Linked DNA regions of Homo sapiens: region 1 is linked to region 2. Evidence: promoter capture Hi-C in human tissues and cell types (Jung and others, 2019). All regions are on one chromosome and are shown on one strand. Each heading gives the region's core, a stretch centred on a gene start or on the middle of the fragment in contact. The rest is flanking DNA. Distances are from core to core; before and after follow the strand shown.

Evidence for each region. The method cuts DNA at HindIII sites, captures the fragments that hold promoters and counts their contacts. A contact is called where the count stands out against the background at its distance.
Region 1: a fragment that was not itself captured here is called in contact with the fragment with the promoter of ZNF222 in region 2 in 3 of the 25 tissues and cell types used here (adrenal gland, dorsolateral prefrontal cortex and pancreas).

The regions. Positions count from the first base shown.
Region 1 is chr19:43,866,757-43,870,582 of GRCh38, forward strand. No RefSeq gene overlaps it. Among named protein-coding and RNA genes, the nearest start is that of ZNF404, 15 kb to the right of the region's middle. The HindIII fragment of the contact is 5,020 bases long and covers 1-3,826 here.
Region 2 is chr19:44,023,742-44,027,393 of GRCh38, forward strand. ZNF222 (zinc finger protein 222) reads left to right here and starts at 1,638. Exons shown (of 4, transcript NM_001129996.2): 1 at 1,638-1,737; 2 at 3,282-3,408. The coding sequence starts at 1,696. ZNF222-DT (ZNF222 divergent transcript) reads right to left here and starts at 1,541. Exons shown (of 3, transcript NR_184028.1): 1 at 1,374-1,541; 2 at 1,157-1,278; 3 at 1-158. RefSeq lists enhancers at 1,604-1,653, 1,884-1,933. The HindIII fragment of the contact is 3,057 bases long and covers 769-3,652 here.

The DNA.
Region 1 (3,826 bases), core at 945-3,444, 160 kb before region 2:
CCAGAGGTGGAGCCTACAGATGCAGGCAGGCCTCCTTGAGCTGTGGTGGGCTCCACCCAGTTCGAACTTCCCGGCTGCTTTGTTTACCTAATCAAGCCTGGGCAATGGCAGGCGCCCCTCCCCCAGCCTCGCTGCCGCCTTGCAGTTTGATCTCAGACTGCTGTGCTAGCAATCAGCGAGACTCCGTGGGTGTAGGACCCTCCGAGCCAGGTGCGGGATATAATCTCGTGGTGCGCCGTTTTTTTAAGCCCGCCGGAAAAGCGCAGTATTCGGGTGGGAGTGACCCGATTTTCCAGGTGCCATCCGTCACTCCGTTCTTTGACTTGGAAAGGGAACTCCCTGACCCCTTGCACTTCCCAAGTGAGGCATTGCCTCGCCCTGCTTCTGCTCCCGCACGGTGCGCGCACCCACTGACCTGCGCCCACTGTCTGGCACTCCCTAGTGGGATGAACCCGGTACCTCAGATGGAAATGCAGAAATCACCGTCTTCTGCGACGCTCACGCTGGGAGCGGTAGACCGGAGCTGTTCCTATTCGGCCATCTTCAAAACTTTGGGATATTTAGCTTACCTTGTTTCAAAGCTTAATATAAAGCTATTTCATAGAGTGTAGTATTTGTATAAGGAAAGTTAAATATATCAGTGTAACAGAAGACAGGCTCCAGAAATAATTCCAAATATATACAACCAATTGATTTATAAGAGTCACCTATGCAAATCAATGAGGGAAATAATTTTTTATCTTAAAAAATCTATTTGGAGAGATTTTATAATAAAAAAATTCCTGCAAACTATTCAAAAATCCATCAATAGAAGAACAGATGAATAAACTATGGTATATTCATACCTTGAATATTACTAAATAGTAAAAAGCTATAAACTACTAATCTAAGGAATAACATAGCAGAATCTCAAATTTTTCTATTGAATGAAAGAATTAAGGAATAGTAGTATTCATAATGTATGATTCCATTTACATGAAGATCAAGATAAGGTAAAACACATTAATTGTAATAGAAATCAGAACAACAGTAGCCTTAGGAGAATGAAAGATAAGAAGCAAGAGAGAACTTTTAGGAATGATGGAAATGTTCTGTAAGTGTCTTCCTGTTGCAGATACTCTGAATTTTTGATGAGTTGGGGATGAGTCCTTACGTGGAAACATTCATGGAAAGTATTAGCTCTGGGTTTTTTTTTTTGTTTTATTTTTTGTTTTTGACAAGAGCTCACTCTGTTGCCCAGGTTGGAGGGCAGTGGCACCATTTCGGCTCACTGCAACCTCCGCCTCCCAAGTTCAAGCAATTCTTGTGCTTCGGCCTCCTGAGGAGCTGGGATTACAGGCATGCATCACTGCACCAGGCTAATTTTTGTATTTCTAGTAACGTCGGGGTTTTGCCATGTTGGCCGGGCCAAGAACTCCTGGCCTCAAGTGATCCGCCTGCCTCAGCCTTCCAAATGCTGAGATTACAGGTGTGAGCCATTGTGCCCTGCCTTGATGTATTTATTTGAATACTTCAAAAAGAAGAAGAGTTACAGTGATACTAAGGAAATAATTATTAGTAATTAAATGGAAATACTTAGTACTTTATAATTAAATTATTATTCTAGGTTGAAAAGTAAGTATGGACAAAATTTAAAATTTAAAATAAATGAAGGCATATTACACAGAATTGAGTGGAGACCAGTACTATGGTCAGAATTGTAAAAAATGAGCCTGGAAGATAATATACTATGAATTTCATGATGAATGTCAATTGCAATTTGCTGTGAGAGAGCAAAAAAAAAAAGCTGTTTATTACATAACAAATTAAATTGTTAAAGAGAAAAATATTGTGAAACATTTTCAGCAAATACATAGTAAATTTGATGAGACGTTTTCTCTTGAGAAGCAAAATGGAATAGATGAAGTTAGTTGCCTGAAATTAGAATTAAATGTCCAACCAAAATATTTAAACAATTTTTAAACAGAATCTGAGTTTATAACCTTTTTGAGCTATAAAATGGCTCTGATTCTTGCACAAAAAAGAAATGTTGGATATAGAGATAAGATAAATTATTAGTTTGGTTGCAAAAATCTTGTTAGCATATTCTGAGAAAGACTAAAATGATCTTATAAAAAGTAAAAAAAAATTAAGTCACCTAAAAACTGCTCATAGAATACAAGATATTTCTAACAATATCATGGATCAATTAATTCAAAGTTAGCAAAAGCTTCAAGTACTCTTCTTTAGCCATATATGAGTTGTGCAATATAAGATAATTTAGCCCAATTGATACTGTGGGTACATTTTGTCTCAAAAGATCCCCAAATAAAAAAAGCTGTCAATTCGCAGCCTACAAAACCAGAGTCATGACATAGATATTTTTGTCTTTTATATCTGTCAAAGAAAAATTTCTGTTAGGTATCAAAAAATATTTCTATCACAATAGATGATACACCAGCTGTATTAGGTTAAAAATCTGAATTCCTTGGAATTTTAATGCAAGAGACTGATGTCTCCCTAACTGCTTTGCTCTACTGTATAAAGAATATACCTATGAAGTATATACATGTAAATATTATGAATCACGACTACTTCATGGAACTGTTAAAAGAAATAGAGGTCAGGCTTGGTGGCTGACGCCTGTAATCCCAGCATTTTGGGAGGCTGAGGGGGGCGATCATGAGGTCAGCAGATCAAGCCCATCCTGGCTAACACGGTGAAACCCCGTCTCTACTAAAACTACAAAAAATTAGCCAGGTGTGGTGGTGGGCACCTGTAGTCCCAGCTACTCGGGAGGCTGAGGAGAATGGCATGAACCTGGGAGGCGGAGCTTGCAGTGAGCCGAGATCGCGCCACTGCACTCCAGCCTAGGTGATAGAGTGAGACTCCGTCTCAAAAAAACATAACAAAACAAAACAAAAAAGAAATAGAGAACAATTAATCTTATGTTCTTTCCCAATGCTCATCTGTTTAATGGTGTAAGACATTTACAAAGATTTCTCGTACTTTGAACTCCAGTTCAAGATTTTCTTTAAAGAAAGTTTTCCAAATATTTAATAATAAAGGAAAAAGAAGACAGTGATTTTTTTTCTCACCAGTATCACATTGCATATGAATAAGCAAAATCTGAAACTCCAAGGAAAGGAAAGCTTTTTTTTCGTGACCTAGTGAAAATAATAGGAACATTCATTGAAATGAAAACTTTTCACTGTATAAGTTCATAATAATGATTTTATATATTTTTCTAGCATGAATCAATATATAGAGGATTTTAACAGGACTGAAAAGCCTTGTGAAAAGATGCATGCAATGAAGAAATAGGCAATCTTAGTAAAGAAATAGGAACTATAAAAGTACTAAAGGAAAATTCTAGAACTGAAAAATGTAATATCTGAAATTAAACAATTTGATAGATAGGCTTAGCAGCAGAACTGAAATGACAGAGAAAAAGAATAAGTGAATTTGAAAACAGAGTAACAGAAGTTGTCCAAGCTGAAGAACAGAAAAAAAATACTGAAGATAAATAACAAAGACAGTGACCTGTGGGACAGTACCAAAAGATTTAACGTATGAGTAGAGTAAATGCAGAAAAAATATTTGAAGATATAATGGCCAAGAATTTCTGGAATTTGGTGAAAGGCACATGTGTGCAAATTTCAGAGGCTCAGAGTACCCCAAGCAGAATTAACACAAAGAAAACCATACCTAGGCACCTCATACTCAAACAGCTGAAAACCAAAAGTAATAAGAAAATCTGGAAAGCACCCAGAGAAAAAGGACACATTACATAAGAGAAAAAACAATTCAAATGACTTCTTCTTGTAAACTATGGAGACTTGAAGAC
Region 2 (3,652 bases), core at 388-2,887:
GAATAAACTACCCCAGCAAAATAAAGGCTATATATGGAAATTCTCAGAGCTGATTGTCATACTCAATGGTGAAGGACTGAAAGCTTTTCTTCTAATATCAGGAACACAATGAGTTTTCTCCACTTTTCCCACATTTAGTCAATGTAGTATTGGAAGTTCTATGCAGAACAATTAGATAGAAAAAGAAAATAAAGCTATTAAAATTGGAAACAGAGGTAAAATTGTCTATATGCTAATGACATGTTCTTATATATAAAAATTCTAAAGAATTCACAAGAAAAAAAAACTCTTAGAGCTAGTAAAGTCAGAAAGTTGCAGGAAAAATATCTACATAGAAGAAGCAGTTGTATTTCTATACAAAAACAATTAATCTGAAAAGGAAAATAGTTCCCTTTGCAATAGCATTAAATAAATAAATTACTTAGGAACTGTCTTAACCAATGACAAGAAACACTTGGACACTGAATTTTGCAACATCTTACTAAAGAAAATTAAAGAAGGCACCCCAGGCATGGTGGCTTATGCCTGTAATCCCAGCACTTTGTGAGGCCCAGGCAGGCGAATAACTTGAGGCCAGGAGTTCGAGATCAGCCTGGCCAACCTGGTGAAACCCCTGTCTTCACTAAAAATACAAAAATTGGCCAGGTATGGTGGTACGTGCCTGTAATCCCAGCTACTTGGGAGGCTGAGGCAGGAGAATCGCTTGAACTCAGGAGGCGGAGGTTGCAGTGAGCCAAGATTGTGCCACTGCACTCCAGCTTGGGCGACAGAGTGAGACTCTGTCTCAAAAAAAAAAAAAAAAAAATTAAAGAAGGCGCAAATAAATGGAGATATATCCATTATTAATGGATTGGGCGACTTGATATTGCAAGGCTGTCAATACCTATATCTATAGATTCAATGCAATCCTTAATCACAGTAACATTTTTCTCAGAAATGAAAAAATCCACCTGAGATTCATGTGAAATATCAAGGGACACTCTCTCCCATGGTCATATTTTAGACCTCGTCATTTTCTAGCAAATATTCCTCCATAATAATTTGCAGCACTACTCTCCAACAACTTTGACTTGTATTTCCACCTTGGTCCCACCAGCATGCTAGCATCAGTAATATTAGAACCTCGCCAATACCTACAGTCCACTGAGACGATCACCTTTTTACTCTTTCAACTCCTCGTGTACTCACAGCCTGCCAAGCACATTTCTTGTCAGGAGAGGACAGCTCACTTCTCCTAATGTCTCACTTCCCAAAATTGTGTCCCATGAAAATTTCTAGCTAGATGAAGGCAGAGAAAGAAAATATTTGATTTCTTAGGCTTTATGGAAGCGATAGGAATGGCAATAGTGGTTTGGAATGGAGACTGCACGCACCAGTCAACAGGGTGTGTCCCGAATAAGCAGTGGGTAAAGGACATTTACTGAAATGCTATCTCCAACTCCACTTCAGGAAAGCTTGCTGCAGAGTTAGAGTGATATAGTCCAAATGCTCTGTTTGAGTCGCGGGCCCTTTGTCTCACACGGGCGAGTCCGGGGAATTCTGGGAAGTGGAGTCCACACGCTCTGTGGAGGCTCGAGCACTTCCGGTCCCCAACTGTGACGTTGCTATTTCATTTACCACAGTAGTTTGAGTCATTTCCACATCTTGCGAGTCCTTCCGAACGAGTCTCCTTTCCTTGGGGCTCGCAACCACCCAATGATCGATTCAGGAGAAAAGAAGCCTGGGCGGAGAGCAGAGGTTTGGAGGGGCGCGGGCGGGGATTGCCGTTCCAGTCAGCTGAGCCTTCTGGCGTCGGGGGGCTCTGCTAGGGTCTCAGGGAGTGGGATTGGCGCGGCCCGGTGTGCCCTACTTTGACCTCGCTTAGTCCGCCTCCCTCCTCCCTACGTGTGCAGCCCCTTTCAGTGTGGTGTGGAGTGTCACTTAATGTCCGTTTATCTTCCATTGCTGGTTCGTTTGTTTGTTTGTTTTGTAACGGGACTTTTCGGACCATCCTAATGGATTCATTTTGGGACCTGAAAGAGGTAACACAAATGAGAGCCTTAAAAGCAGTCCCTGTCACTCGGTGTCTGGTGGTCTCTTGTTAATTTCCCACGAAGCCTGTCAGGTCCTCTGGTGGGGTCAGAGCTCCAGCTGCAGGGGCGCCGGCCCTTCTGCCTGATCCCTGCAGGACGCTGGATGATCCCTGACGCCTTCTGACCTCTTTTTAGGAAAGTGAGGGGAGCATTTAACTTTTATGGGGGACGGCAAAACGGTCAGGGTGTTTCACAGCTTTCTTTTTCCCCAGCCCGACCTTTCTAAAAGAGCTGCAGGAAGGGACTTCTTGGCTACTGATGGCAAAGCTCTACGTGAGTGATCCTTGGCTTTTTTTCTTTGACAGAGATGCTTACCTCAACCGAGAGTGTGTAGGATTTGTCCCTCGGGCATGGGTGTCGATAATGATTAAGCCTTAATTGGTAACTTTATTCCAAGTACTTTATACCCCAAAATACATGATCTTCACAGTGGCACTGTGGAGAGGTGCTGCTTTTTTCATTTTAAAGATGGGCGTGAGACACAGGTGGAGCAGGAGTTGAAACCTAGGCAGTCCAGGTTAGAGCCTGAGTTGATCATCTCTTGAATGCAATTCTCATTGAGGCAGAGGTACTAGCTGGGAACAGGTGGAGAACGTAAGTTAGGACTTGATTGAAGGCACCTTGAGGCAAGGCTCAGGGGCTTGGACTTCTATAGGAGTTTTTGTTTGTTTGCTTTTTGCTTTTTAATTTTTTTAACCTTATCTACTATTTTCTTTCTCTCTCTCTCTCTATATATATATATATTTTTTTTTTTACAGAGTTTCGCTCTTGTTGCTTAGGCTGGAGTGCAGTGGTGCAATCTTGGCTCACTGTAACCTCCGCCTCTCGGGTTCAAGTGATTCTCCTGCCTCAGTCTCATTTTCGTCAAAGGGCCCGCGACTCAAACAGAGCATTTGGACTATATCACTCTAACTCTGCAGCAAGCTTTCCTGAAGTGGAGTTAGAGATAGCATCTCAGTAAATGTCCTTTACCCACTATTTATTCAGGACACACCCTGTTGACTGGTGTGTGCAGTCTCCATTCCAAACCCCTATTGCCTAATCAGTCATTGTCAGGACACAAACAGAATAAGTAGGAAATCTATAAGCTGACCTATGTCTCTCAAGATCCAAAACAACTTTACACTTGTCCCTTGTGCCAGTGCAATGCTGCTGTCTCCCAATAGTCTTTGGCCGTAAGATTGAGGTGACATCTGCTTGATGTTGTAGGAGGCAGTGACCTTCAAGGATGTGGCTGTGATCTTCACTGAGGAGGAGCTGGGGCTGCTGGACCCTGCCCAGAGGAAGCTGTACCGAGATGTGATGCTTGAGAACTTCAGGAACCTGCTCTCAGTGGGTGAGGACGGGCACCCCCTGTAATGGAATGTCAGGCCCCAGGAGTGGTTTTTTAATCCTAGGGTTTTCAAGTTTGAGTGTGCAGTGAGAACCTACATTTCCAGTAAATTTTGCCTGGCTATTAGGTTGGTGCAAAAGTAATTGTGGTTTTTGTCATTGGAAGTAATGGTACACTGCAATTACGTTTGCACCAACATGATATTACCTTGAACATGTTGGGATTAAGCATGTGACTTTGCCTGTTC